2 separate regions of the Homo sapiens genome follow, and region 2 is linked to region 1. Evidence: promoter capture Hi-C in human tissues and cell types (Jung and others, 2019). All regions are on one chromosome and are shown on one strand. Each heading gives the region's core, a stretch centred on a gene start or on the middle of the fragment in contact. The rest is flanking DNA. Distances are from core to core; before and after follow the strand shown.

Region 1 (6,682 bases), core at 3,586-6,085:
CAAGAGAGGAAGTATTAGAAGGTAGATTCTCCTCCCTCCAAACTGACTCTGTTCCCCACTTTAGGCTTTTAGTTCCCTGGCCCGGGACATCTTGCTCAAGTCAGGAGGCCGGAGATCAGTAAGTTGGTTTTGCTGGACTAGGTACAACTCTGGGGTGTGTGTGTGTGTATGTATGTGTGTGTGTGTGTGTGTGTGTGTGTGTGTGTTGGTGTTGATAAAAACGGGGAGCAATGCTAAGATTTCTCATGAGGGTGGATTTACTTTAAACAGTTTATACCCTCCTACCCTAACCATCCATTCACACCATGACACCTGTGCCCTTCTCCCTCTAGGGAAACGGCAACAAGCCTCCCAGTACTGACCTGAAAACTTGTGACAAGAAGAACACCAACAAGTGCTCCCTGGGCTGAGGACCCTTTCTTGCCTCCCCACCCCGGAAGCTGAACCTGAGGGAGACAACGGCAGAGGGAGTGAGCAGGGGAGAAATAGCAGAGGGGCTTGGAGGGTCACATAGGTAGATGGTAAAGAGAATGAGGAGAAAAAGGAGAAAAGGGAAAAGCAGAAAGGAAAAAAAGGAAGAGAGAGGAAGGGAGAAGGGAGAGGAATGAATTGAGGAAGTGAAAGAAGGCAAGGAGGTAGGAAGAGAGGGAGGAGGAAAGGAAGGAGAGATGCCTCAGGCTTCAGACCTTACCTGGGTTTTCAGGGCAAACATAAATGTAAATACACTGATTTATTCTGTTACTAGATCAGGTTTTAGGGTCCTGCAAAAGGCTAGCTCGGCACTACACTAGGGAATTTGCTCCTGTTCTGTCACTTGTCATGGTCTTTCTTGGTATTAAAGGCCACCATTTGCACAAATGTTCCTGTTTTGGGTAACTTGGATTATTGTCAGAATTGTTCTCCACTCAAATCCAATTATTGTGTCTTCAAAGTGATTGATTTACCCAAATCAGGCTCGGTTTCTGTGGAACCAGGACTAATCCTACTGCTGTCTCTTCCCTAGCTGTTCTGTTGGTAAGGAAAATAGCAAAGAGCAGGAGGTAGAGTGATCTGAAGGTCTGGATATCCTCTTTCCGCCATGGGGTCCGGATGCCCTTGTGGGCAGAGCCTTGTCCTGAGCACAGGAAATTCCCAGCGAGAAGAACTCTAACAGTCCTAGCCTCAGGGAAATAACTGCACCTAGTGATTTATCCAGTGATTTGTGCAAGCTTCTTTGATTCTGCCAGCAATCCATTTAGTTATTTGATAGGCATTAATATCTGCTTTTATTAGTGAGGAAAATGAGAAGTTCATTTATTCATATATGTATATTGAGCATCTACTAAGTGCCAGGCACAATGGTCAGTTATTTTATTTATTTATTCATTTATTTTTAGGGACAGAGTCTTGCTCTGTCTCCGAGGCTGGAGTGCAATAGTGCGATCTCAGCTCACTGCAACCTCTGCCTCCTGCCTCAGCCTCTCAAGTAGCTGGGATTACAGGCGTGAGCCACCATGCCTGGCCAATAGTCAGTTAATATAGCCCTTTGGTGGTACTTACAAGCAGAGGGACAAGGACTTTTTTTCTTTTTTAAGACCGAGTGTGGCTCTGTCGCCCAGACTGGAGTGCAGTGGCACGATCCCAGCTCACTGCAACCTCTGCCTCCCGGGTTCAAGCGATTCTCCTGCCTCAGCCTCCCGAGTAGCTGGGATTACAGGCACGTGCCACCACACCTGGCTAACTTTTGTGTTTTTAGTGGAGACAGGGTTTTGTCATGTTGGCCAGGCTGGTCTTGAACGCCTGGGCTCGAGTGATCAGTCTGCCTCAGTCTCCCAAAGTGCTGGGGTTACAGGCGTGAGCCACTGCGCCCAGCCTGGGACAAGCAAACTTTAACAAAAACAGCTCTTTGGCTGGGCGTGGTGGATCACAACAGGAGTTCAAGACCAGCCTGGCCAGCATAGTGAAACCCCGTCTCTACTAAAAATACAAAAAAAAAAAAAAATTAGACAGGAGTGGTGGAGGGCGCCTGTAGTCCCAGCTACTTGGGAGGCTGAGGCAGGAGACTCACTTGAACCTGGGAGGCAGAGGTTGCAGTGAGTTGAGATCACACCACTGCACTCCAGCCTGGGTGACACAGCCAGACTCTGTCTCAAAAAAACAAAAACGAAAACAAAAACATCTCTTTGCTGAATAACAAAGATGGCAAAACTACTGGAAATGCAAAAGAAAATTCAGGCTTGGGCCGAGCACGTTGTTTCATGCCTGTAGTCCCAGCACTTTGGGAGGCCGAGGTGGGTGGATCACTTCAGGTTGGGAGTTTGAGACCAGCCTGGCCAACATGGCGAAACCCCATCTCTACTAAAAATACAAAAAAAATTAGCTGGGCATGGTGGTGGGTGCCTGTAATACCAGCTACTTGGGAGGCTGAGGGAGGAGAATCGCTTGAACCTAGGAGGCAGAGGTTACTGTGAGCAGAGTTCGCACCATTACACTCCAGCCTGGAGACAGAGCGAAACTCCATCTCAAAAAAAAAAAAAAAATTCAGGCTTGATGCACAGCATCCTTAAGTATATATATATTATATTATATTATATATTACAATGTATAATTATATATATTATATATTAAATATATAGGAAATATATAATATATATAACATGTATATGTTTATAAACATATAACATATTATATATAATATATAATTATATATTATACATATATATTAAATATATATTATAATTATATATTTAATATATAATATATTATGTTTAATATATAATTATATATAATTATATTATGTTTAATATATAATATATAATACATATTTTAATACATAATATATATATATCCCCCTTTCACCATACATAATATTTTTTACACAGCAAAATGTAATAACTTGATAAATGTAAGTATCCAAGCATTGATGAGGTAATGATAAACCTTATTTGTGGCTTATGCTTAAGTTCTTTTTTTTTTCTTTTGAGATGAATTCTTGCTCTTGTTGCCCAGGCTGGAGTACAATGGTGTGATCTCGGCTCACCGCAACCTCTACCTCCCGGGTTCAAGTGATTCTCCTGCCTCAGCCTCACGAGTACCTGGGATTACAGGCATATGGCACCATGCCCAGCTAATTCTGTATTTTTAGTGGAGACGGGGTTTCTCCATGTTGGTCAGGCTGGTCTTGAACTCCCGACCTCAGGTGATCCGCCCACCTCGGCCTCCCAAATTGCTGGGATTACAGGCGTGAGCCACTGCGCCCAGCTGTGTTTGAGTTCTGTAGTAAACTGTCCGGTAGGTTTAATTTGCTCAAGCGATGAGGAAAAGACTTGCACTTTGTGCCTCCTGGGAAAGAGACTAACGTCTTCAACATACCTTATGGCAGATATTTAATTTCAGAGTAGAGACCCCACTCTGATGCCTGGTAAGGTTATTGGAAGTGAAATATCACAAGATCTTACAGTTTGTTGTGAGATAAGGTAGGATTTGGTGAGGAGTAACAAATACTAGCAGATTTCGGCCCAAACTTCAATTATAGCTAAACATTACTGGAAAAAACCCCACAACCTACTTTATGTAACATATAACTACTCACACACATACACAAAAATAATACACACACAATTTCAGCAAACACAAATAATAATTTAAAGAAACAAATTCAAAATTAGAGCCAGGTATGGTGGCACATGCCTGAAATCCCAGCTACTTGGGAGGATCCCTGAAGACGAGAAGTTCCAGGCTGTAATGCGCTATGATGGCTCCTGTGACTTGCCACTGCACTCCAGTCTGGCAACATAGCCAGAGTCCATCTCGTTCAAAAACAAAAACAAACAAACAAAAAACGGCGAAATGAAGGCTCAGCCCTCATCAGGTTTAGGTGACAGAGCTAGACCCTGTCTAAGAAAAAAAATAAAATTAAATGAAAATTCGTTATCAGACAGTAAAGCATGAACCCACAGTGCTGGTCAAGTCACTGCAGATCTGAGTGTGTATCAAGGTTTAACTCCATAAGATGAAAAGCAGGCAATGAATCTTTGGCCTGGGTGTTGACAGTCTAGGCTCAAGCCTCAGCTTTCCCACTCATTAGCTTGCTGACCTTGGACAAGTCACTTATATTCTCTGAACTTACTCATGAAACGGAGATACATTTCATCTGCCTCTCGCAAGAAAAAGTCCTGGTAAATACACATTAGCATTTCCGTTTTACACAGAACACTGACAGATACTTTCCTAAGATCATGGAGTTAATAACCACCAGAACCTAGACTCAATACTTATGGAACTTCAAATCTCATGCTTTTCTCATTGCACTTATGATTACTCCATTATGTAGGAGCAAGGGAGAGTTGAGAGCATTTGAAGAGGTTATGCAAAGGACCAGCTCTGAGGAGTAGGCTTAGCAAAGTAACATGAGGGAAGGTAACACCGTTCATCTGTGTAGCGGAGTGGGAGCCAAGAGACAAGGAGAAAGTTTCATGTTCGTCATGTGTCTCGGATATTCCGGTTTCTGCAGGGACGAGAACGCGCAGTTTCGCCTCCATCCCTTGACCTCCAACACAGCTTCTCCACTGGATCATCGGTGGCGATGAAGGGGCGGCTGGGGAAGGATGTCAGAGAAACCAGAAGCTTGACGGTGAATCCTCGGGTTTTAAGGAGAGAGCAAAGTCCTGAGAGGGCGACGTATTGTCCCTGCTCACCTAGCCCAGAATGAACAAACACGCGCCAGCCAGGGAGCAGCGAGCCGAGAATTCGGACGAGCCTCTGCAACCGCCATTTGCCGTTCTCGCAAAGACTACCAAGACCACAATGCAACGGGGCGCCGAGCTAATTCCCAGTGAGCAGCAGGCGAGGCGCCACCGACGCGGAAGACTATAAGCCCCAGCGGGCGACGACCGAACGCCCCCGGGAACACCGGGCCCCGAGCTCGGTCCCGCGCCCGAGGATCCTCCACGGGGCTAGATGGCTGCGTCGGGGGCGGGAGCGGAGGTGAGCGGGCGCTAGGGCCGCGAGCCCCCGCCGGCCCTTCCTCCAGCGCCCTGCGGACCCCGCAGAAGGCGCTCGCCTCCCTAGCCCGCAAAAACATATCGATTTTTCTCGCTGTGGCAACGGGGACGTCCTGATAGATCCTCTGCTCCAATAGGCAACTCCGGCCTTCCCTGCCCTGACCTGGAACCTCTGGGAGGGCTGCAGAGTAAGTGCCGCCTCTGCGCTCCGACGGAGGCACGAGGCCTGTGGAGTAGGTCCCTCTGTTCCGACAGGTGCGACACTTGGCGCTCCATGCTTGCGGGTGCCGGGAGGCCTGGCCTCCCCCAGGGCCGCCACCTCTGCTGGTTGCTCTGTGCTTTCACCTTAAAGCTCTGGTAAGGAGGAGGTAAGGGGAGGGAAAAGGAGGTCACTGGAGGACAGGATCGTTCCCGGCCTCGGGGCTGGGGGAGATCTTATCCATGGACAGCGCAGGAGGGGGTGCCCTATTTTCTGGGTTTTGACTTTTGTCCCTTCCCCCAACTCCGCTACAGCCAAGCAGAGGCTCCCGTGCAGGAAGAGAAGCTGTCAGGTGGGTGATTGTCTGGGAACCCGACACGTCCCGTCGTTTGTTTTTGGTTTTAGTATCTTCCCCATATACCAAGAGCACAGGTGGAAAAGGCCGGCACCACATGGAATGAGGGCAAGCGCTGTGCCGGGAAGTTGGATGGGCAGAGCCTGGGAGAAATGTTTTCTGAATGGCCTGGGGCTGGCATTTATCTTTCCTTTCAGCAAGCACCTCAAATTTGCCATGCTGGCTGGTGGAAGAGTTTGTGGTAGCAGAAGAGTGCTCTCCATGCTCTAATTTCCGGGCTGTGAGTATCTATTTCTCTACCCTTTTTTTTTTTAAACATCTAAGCAAACACTTAAGCAACATCTTAACATCCAAGTCTTATTAAGCTGCCTTTGCATCATCTTTTTTTCTTTCTTCTTGCAGTCTCAGTGTATGTCCAAATCTGTACTTGTCTTTCCCCTGAAAATGTGCCCCTTTCTTTCCAAGCTAATGGCAGTATTCAACTGATAACTATGGTTTTTTTGTTTGTTTTTGAGACGGAGTCTCACTCTGTTGCCCAGGCTGGAGTGCAGTGGCGAGATCTCGGCTCACCACAACCTCCGCCTCCCGGGTTCAAGCGATTCTCCTGCCTCAGCCTCCTGAGTAGCTGTGACTAAAGGCGCGTTGCACCATGCCTGGCTAATTTTTGTATTTTTAGTAGACTCGGGTTTCACTGTGTTGGCCAGGCTAGTCTCTAACTCCTTACCTCGTGATCTGCCCGCCTCGGCCTCCCAAAGTGCTGGGATTATAGGCGTGAGCCGCCACACCCGGCCTCAAATAACTATGTTTTATTCACTTTTAGTATAGTAGGCTCTGGAATGGAATGTATCTTTGCCACTCCTAGACTGTTGCCCCTGAAGTGTTCTAACATACATTCGTAATCATGCAACCACCACCTCCACCATCCGCATCAGAACTCTTTCATTAGCTCTCTGTTGCCTACCACTCCAAACCATAGCAGTTGGGCACCTGCACCTTCTGAATGGCAGCCTTTTTGTTTATCCTGTTGCCCCTTCCTAACATGTACTTTGCTCCTTTTCTCCTGGCAGAAAACTACCCCTGAGTGTGGTCCCACAGGATATGTAGAGAAAATCACATGCAGCTCATCTAAGAGAAATGAGTTCAAAA
Region 2 (7,367 bases), core at 1,253-3,752, 1.2 Mb before region 1:
AGGTCGAGGCTGCAGTAAGCCATGTTTGCACCGCTGCTCTCCACCCTGGGCAACAGAGCAAGACCTTGTCTGAAAAAAAGAAAAAGAATAGAAAAAAAAAGAGCTGTAACTCTACAAGGCTTTTAATGAAAAATAACCATCCCCTGCTCCTCTTCTTTAACCCTTACATATACAACCTACATATACAACTACGCTCCAGTTTCTAGGCTGCTTCTTCTGGTACTTATCTGTACATTTCTTCAAGCAACACTCCCACCTAGGCCTCCCAAAGTTCTGGGATCACAGCTCCACTGTCCCCAGCTCCAATTTTTAGTTAAATCAATACTTAGTGTTTACATCGTTACGGCTGTGAAAATTTTCTTCACAGCTGAGCCATTTGTGTTTGTGCTAAGACTGTGAATCTGTAAAAACTGCTTTTGTTAATTAACATCCAGGACATACGGCTGAGAAACTTCATTTTCTAAAATCATAGTCACAAACTTTGCTATTTGAAATCAGTCAGTGCGAATGGAACATCCTACTCTTGCCAGAAGTTCTGAGCCACGTGGATTACTTTGGCCTCCCAAAGTGTTGGGATTACAGGCACGAGCCACTGTGCCCAGCCTAGATAGTGGGTTTTTGGACACTATATTCTATATTTATCTTGACTTTGTAATTTCCAAGTGGTCCCTCAGCTTGGACTTCTTGATCCCTTCACTTAAAGTTATGCTTACCTCGAACCGATCAAAACACTGTTTCATTTAAATTTTAGCTAGCCTATAGTATCAGCCACTTGGGAGGCTGAGGCAGGAGGATCACTTGAGCCCAGAAGTTTGAGCTTCGCCTGGGCAACATACCGAGACTTCAACTCTAAATAAATAAGTAAATAAATTTTAAAATATAAATTTTAAAGTCAAGCCTTTCCCATATCCTGTTGTATTAGTTCATTTTCACATTACTGATAAAGACATACCCGAAACTGCAAACAAAAAGAGGTTTAATTGGACTTACAGTTCCACATTGCTGGGGAGGCCTCAGAATCATGGCGGGAGACAAAGGCACTTCTTACATGGCGGTGGCAAGAGAAAAATGAGGAAGAAGCAAAAGCAGAAACCCCTGATGAACTCATCAGATCTTGTGAGACTTATTCACTATCATGAAAATAGCACGGGAAAGTCTGGCCCCCGTGATTCAATTACCTCCCCTTAGGTCCCTCGCACGTGGGAATTCTGGGAGATACACATCAACTTGAAATTTGGGTGGGGACACAGCCAAACCATATCATCTGAATGACCATATTTCTTCCTTTTTAATGAGTTGCCCCACAGTTCTTCTAGTGTGTGATCTCTCTGTTGTGGCAAGTTAATAAACCTAACTGTCAAACTACAGATGTGGTCTTTATAAGACAGGCTTATCAATTGTCTTTCCTTTCTTATATAACTCTTTGTTTCCTCTGAAGTTGATAATTGCCTAACCTTTTCTCTTACTTTGTTCTCTCTCTCTCTTTCTCTCTATACATAATAAATTCATCCCCAAAACTGTTCTAAAGAATTATACTCTTTCTTTCAATGCCTTCACCACTTCAGGTAATTCTTCTGGTCTTTCTTTTCTTTTCTTTTTTTTTGAAACCCAGACTCCTGGAGCCCTTCTTCCTCTGGCTCCAAGTTATATTGGTTGTTGTCCTTGTAAAAATATGACTACCTCTGTTCTAACAATAATCTCAAGCCTTCATGGTTAGTTGTCAATGCAACTGCTTCACTGACTCCTGCTTTCCCCCTCCACCTGAAAGGGGTCGAGTCTCTTGACATCTCTGTATCTCCAAAGTCTATCATGGTAATCAAGAAATGTTCTGGCCGGGCGCTGTGGCTCATGCCTGTAATCCTAGCACTTTGGAAGGCTGAGGTGGGCCAGTCACTTGAGGTCAGGAGTTTGAGACCAGCCTGGCCAACATAGTGAAATCCCCGTTCTCTGCTAAAAATAAAAAAATTAGCCCGGCGTGGTGGCGCGCGCCTGTAATCCCAGCTGCTCGGGAGACAGAGGTTGCAGTGAGCTGAGATCGAGCCACTGTACTCCAGCATGGGCAACAGAGCGAGACTTTGTCTCAAAAAAAAAAAAAAAAAAAAAAAAAAAAAAAAGGAGTTCTGTCCCGCCTAGGCACTATAGAGAGACCCTGTCAAGAATGGAAAGAAAGAAATCTTCGAATGAATGAACTAGTGAATGAAGGAATGGATTTCAGCGCTGGAGAATTGAGTTTAAGGGGAATGGTATTATATTCCCATCTTGTTGCAACATTTAAGGATGTCCTCAAGCCCCACGCCAGCCTGGAGCGTAGCCCAAGGTGGGAAAGCAGCGCCGAGGCCTCTCCAGACCCGGCCTGCTCCCCGTTTGCGGAGCACAGCCCACTGTACCCCCGCCTAGATTGAGGCGCTGGCCAGGAGTACACCAGGCGCCGCCATGTGAACTACAACTCCCAGAAGGCCGCGCGGAAGCGGAACGTGAACCAGGGAGGACTTCCGGACGCCAACATCCGGGCCGCGCGGGGAAGGGGAGACGTGGGGTAGAGGTAAGTGTAGGTTGAAGGCTGAATGGGGAGGGCGAGAGATGGGGAGTGGGTCTCAAATATAGAGGGGGTAGCAAGGTGGAAGGGGCCCTTCCACCTTTTGTGGGCACTCAAGTTCGGACCTCTGGGATCGGCGATTCCCCTCTGGCCAGGGCTGGTTTTAATGCTCTCCGTGGGCGGGCTTCGGTTGAGTTTGGTCCGCTTTTCCTTTCTGCTCCTCAGGGGAGCATTGCTTCCTTCTCTCGCAGTGACCATGACGAAATTAGCGCAGTGGCTTTGGGGACTAGCGATCCTGGGCTCCACCTGGGTGGCCCTGACCACGGGAGCCTTGGGCCTGGAGCTGCCCTTGTCCTGCCAGGAAGTCCTGTGGCCACTGCCCGCCTACTTGCTGGTGTCCGCCGGCTGCTATGCCCTGGGCACTGTGGGCTATCGTGTGGCCACTTTTCATGACTGCGAGGACGCCGCACGCGAGCTGCAGAGCCAGATACAGGAGGCCCGAGCCGACTTAGCCCGCAGGGGGCTGCGCTTCTGACAGCCTAACCCCATTCCTGTGCGGACAGCCCTTCCTCCCATTTCCCATTAAAGAGCCAGTTTATTTTCTAACTTCGTTTAGTTTGAGTATGGAAAACGGGTATTGGGGATTCTATGTACTAACGGTCGAGAAGTGAATGTGAAAGAACCACCTTCTTGAGGCCATCTCAGCCTTTATCTTTGCATCTTGCTGGTGTTCCCATTTTTGCTCCCAAGGAGGCAAAGACCCCTTCTCAATATTTCTCAGGATGGAAATGACATTTCACTTTCCTGGTCCTTTCAACCCTGTAGGAAGTACTTCTTTTTTTTTTTTTTTGAGACGGAGCCTTGCTCTGTCGTCCAGGCTGGAGTGCAGTGGCGTGATCTCGGCTCACTGCAAGCTCCGCCTCCCGGGTTCACGCCATTCTCCTGCCTCAGCCTCCTGAGTAGCTGGGACTACAGGCGCCTGCCACCACGCCTGGCTAATTTTTTGTATTTTTAGTAGAGTCGGGGTTTCACCGTGTTGGCCAGGATGGTCTGATCTCCTGACCTCGTAATCCGCCCGCCTCGGCCTCCCAAAGTGCTGGGATTACAGGTGTGAGTCACCGCGCCCGGCGTACTACTTCTTTTTTTTTTTTTTTTTGAGACAGGGTCTCACTCTGTTGCCCAGGCTGGAGTGCAGTGGTGCAATCATGGCTCACTGCAGCCTCACCCTCCCAGGCTCAAACAGTTCTCCCACCTCAGCCTCCAGAGTAGCTGGGACTACAGGCATATGCCACCACGCCACCAGGCTAATGTTTAATTTTTTGTAGTGACAGGGTCTCGCTGTGTTGCTCAGGCTGTTCTCAAACTCCTGGGCTCAAGTGATCCTCCTGCCTGGGCCTCCCAAAGTGCTGTGATTACAGACATAAGCCACCTTACCCGGCCAGAAGTACTTTCTTGAAGCCTAAGTTCCATTCTTCATAACATCCAAGTTTTGTTATTTTTAAGGCCTTCCTGGGTCTTTCCAACCTTTTGGTTCTTTGAGATACCTTTTCTGAGCCTACCCTACCAACCTGAGAATAACTGTGGATCTATCCTTCACCAAACCAGGCAGGTTTAGAATTATGAGTAGAGAATGAACCATCGTGGGCAGGGGTGGGGAACACTTTATTTTAAGGCATATTCATATCAGCATATAAGGCATATTCATATCACAATGGCACGATCTCAGCTCACTGCAACCTCCACCTCCTGGGTTCAAGCAATTCTCCTGCCTCAGCCTCCCAAGTATCTGGGATTACAGGCATGTGCCATCATGCCTGGCTAATTTTGTATTTTTAGTAGAGATGGGGTTTCACCATGTTAGTCAGGTTGGTCTTGAACTCCTGACCTCAGGCGATCCGCCCACCTTGGCCTCCCAAAGTGCTGGGATTACAGGCGTGAGCCACCGCGCCCGGCCTTTTAAGGCATATTCTAAAGATTGCACCCCAACCTCCAAAATTAAAAAAAAAAATCTCTAAAAAATAAAAAGTGATTTCATCTCCTAGGCCCCAATCAATCATCTAAGTAAAGCTTTTTCTTTGGTCCTTTTATCCTCAAAGTCATCTCTTGTTCCCACAACCCACTGCACCTGGGAAGCTGGACAGCAGGCCCAGCTGAAACAAGGAGGTCTCTTTGGTTCAGGTTGGCACTAAGGTGCCCAGTGGTCAGATGAGCAGCCTCAGGTTTGCAGGAGCCAGTAGTTCCTGTCTTGCTCCTGGGGGTACTTCCAGAAAAGCCAGAAGCGGATAAAGCTGGTGACGATTCCTGGAAAGTTGGACACCTGAAATCACAAGAACTGCTATGAGGAGAGGAGCCAGTTTTCCATCTTGCACCCCTGTCACCCCATCCCAGTTGTGCTTACCATGATATAGGGATCTCTGAGTCGAAACCCATAGAGGCACCAGGAGGCAGAGGTGAGAAGGGTAGCAATGGTGAGTGGGTAGGAGAGACATTGGGTTGATTTAGTTTGAATCACCTTAGCCTGTGGGAAAGAATGGAAGACTCTCTTGGCCCAAGCACATCGTAAAGCTTCACTTGCCTAAGAATTTCCTCAAGAAAAAGGTCAGACACCCTCCCTGATCTGTCACCCAACCTTTCCTGCCTCCCACTCGCCCACTTCTACTGCCTTGTCTTCTTCCAGGGTTTGGATCTCCCCTTCCTCGGGACTGTAAGCCATAGTATTTGGCTATGAGAGCCTGACTCTTATCTCTCCTACCTCCTTGGACACCCCCACTCACCAAGTCAGCCAGTGGTGAGAGGTACATGCTGATGGTGAAGACACTGCAGAAGAGGCCCAACTGCTGAAGCCGGGCCTCAGGGTTGGGTACCAGGAGCCAAAAGTAGCCATAACCCAGGAGAAGGACCCCTAGCAGGGTTGCAGTCTGTAGGAGCACAACACGCTGCAGGGGAGAGAGTACCCTTACTTCCAGATGTGCACTCTGACTTCCCTGCTAGAGTTAATTCATCCTGCCTTCTCCAGTGCTCCAATGGGGAAGCCAAGCTGTCTAGGCCTCCAGCACTGCACTGTCACAGCTTCTTTCCCACCACCAACTTGATAGGAAAGTCTTATCCACCCACAACACTGGAGACTTCTGGGGGAGATAAATATGTGTTTTTTTCTGTGTGCTTGGCACACACAGTAGGAGCTTCATAAATGCTTGTGTGATTTAGCAGGGACGCAGAGCTAATCATCTCATTCTCACCCACAGGCCCTGGCTCTGAAAGAAATATCAGAGACAAAAGCCCTTTCCCCTTAGCTTGTTGGCTGAAGCCCAGGGCAGGCAGCATAGGCATCTCAGGCTAGGCAGAGCTACCAGCCTTGCCTAAATGGGGGCAATGTGTTCATCTCAGAAGGCTGGCTTCATAGAGGAAGGGGACCTGCAAGGCTGGAGAGGCCTTCCTGGAAAAGGTGGCAGTGCCAGCTGTTACAGTCTTCTAGGAAATAGTGTTTGCCCTGCCAGCAAGGCAGGGCGTGCAGCAGATAGGTGGGTCCAAGGGAGGGCCTCTACCTTCCGAGGGCAGTAATGCAGATATGCCAAGATATACAGGGTCTGAAGCGCAGCACCCACTGTGTTGACGACGATGAGGATCCCGTCTCCCTTCAAAGCCCCATAACTCAGCCAGCCCAGGTTGCTGCAGGGTGGAGGGGATGGACATGGCTCAAAGGGTTCAGTGTGAGAGGAGGACCCAAAGGGTCTTTCACTCTTTTTTTTTTTTTGAGACGTAGTCTCGCTCTGTCGCCCAGGCTGGAGTGCGGTGGCACGATCTCGGCTCACTGCAAGCTCCGCCTCCTGGGTTCACGCCATTCTCCTGCCTCAGCCTCCCGAGTAGCTGGGACTACAGGCGCCCGGCACCACGCCCGGCTAATTTTTTGTATTTTTAGTAGAGACGGGGTTTCACCGTGTTAGCCAGGATGGTCTGGATCTCCTGACCTCGTGATCCGCCCGTCTCGGCCTCCCAAAGTGCAGGGATTACAGGCGTGAGCCACCGCGCCCGGCCAAACCTCTTTCACTCTTGCTCCTCCTGCCCCGCCCCCACCTCCCTCTGGTAGCCTTTCCCACTACCGCAGCCGTCGGCCCCTCACTTGACTTCCGTGGTGAGAAAGGGCAGGAACTGGACGTTGTCCACACTCCGGGTCATTCGCATGTGCCTGAGGTCCGAGCTGTAATGGGGCCCCGAAGGGAGGGGTGGGGGTGGGAAGGGAGAAGCAGAGTGCTAGAGGGGGATGCCCAATGCCTGTCATCCTTTCCGGACCACCGCAGACCCCGCCCCCTCTCCCCCCCGCCAGCTATCCTGCCTTCTCCTTCAGGCCTAGTGACCAGCCTCGCCCTTGTACCCCGGTCCCCTCGACCCGATCCCACTTTGATCCCGGTTCCGGACGAGCCAGGTGCTGTGGCCACGTCTCTGTCCCCTCTCTCTCCTTTCCTGACTGCCTAGTCCTCCCCAACCCAGCCCGGCCGCACTCTCACAGGCCGGCGGAGAACATGCCAAGGGTGAAGACCACGCATGCTCCGTAAATGAGCGAGTCCAGAAAGCCGCCCGCCTCCATTACGACTAGAGTCGGATCCCGCGCCCAGCGCCCGCCGCGAGCCTGCGGTTGCCGGGACCTACTGCAGCCCAGACCTGCGGCTCTGGAGCCCCGCCCCGCGCACTCGGCTCCGCCCCCGCACGCTCGGGCCGTCCCTCCGGAAACTGCGCCGAAGCCCCACCCTCCCTCCGACGCCGAACCGGAACTCGCGCCCCTCTCCTCCGAGCGCCTTCCCAGTACCCTGGTCCAGACCTCTTCCATGTCCCG

Evidence for each region. The method cuts DNA at HindIII sites, captures the fragments that hold promoters and counts their contacts. A contact is called where the count stands out against the background at its distance.
Region 2: the fragment with the promoter of DPM3 here is called in contact with the fragment with the promoter of JTB in region 1 in 1 of the 25 tissues and cell types used here (aorta).

Annotation. Positions count from the first base shown.
Region 1 is chr1:153,975,827-153,982,508 of GRCh38, reverse strand. JTB (jumping translocation breakpoint) reads left to right here and starts at 4,835. Exons shown (of 5, transcript NM_006694.4): 1 at 4,835-5,339; 2 at 5,496-5,533; 3 at 5,734-5,816; 4 at 6,604-6,682. The coding sequence starts at 5,257. It overlaps JTB-DT (JTB divergent transcript), which reads right to left and starts at 4,766. Exons shown (of 1, transcript NR_186180.1): 1 at 3,349-4,766. It overlaps RAB13 (RAB13, member RAS oncogene family), which reads left to right. Exons shown (of 8, transcript NM_002870.5): 7 at 65-118; 8 at 333-859. The coding sequence ends at 410. RefSeq lists silencers at 4,362-4,656, 4,945-4,994 and enhancers at 4,665-4,714, 4,716-5,364, 6,014-6,663. The HindIII fragment of the contact is 6,167 bases long and covers 2,908-6,682 here.
Region 2 is chr1:155,135,666-155,143,032 of GRCh38, reverse strand. DPM3 (dolichyl-phosphate mannosyltransferase subunit 3, regulatory) reads left to right here and starts at 2,502. Exons shown (of 2, transcript NM_153741.2): 1 at 2,502-2,542; 2 at 2,788-3,142. The coding sequence starts at 2,793. The coding sequence ends at 3,071. SLC50A1 (solute carrier family 50 member 1) reads right to left here and starts at 7,181. Exons shown (of 6, transcript NM_018845.4): 1 at 7,042-7,181; 2 at 6,657-6,734; 3 at 6,082-6,205; 4 at 5,311-5,472; 5 at 4,935-5,054; 6 at 4,180-4,853. The coding sequence starts at 7,121. The coding sequence ends at 4,752. RefSeq lists enhancers at 2,203-2,262, 2,433-2,562 and a silencer at 7,141-7,367. The HindIII fragment of the contact is 27,453 bases long and covers 1-4,852 here.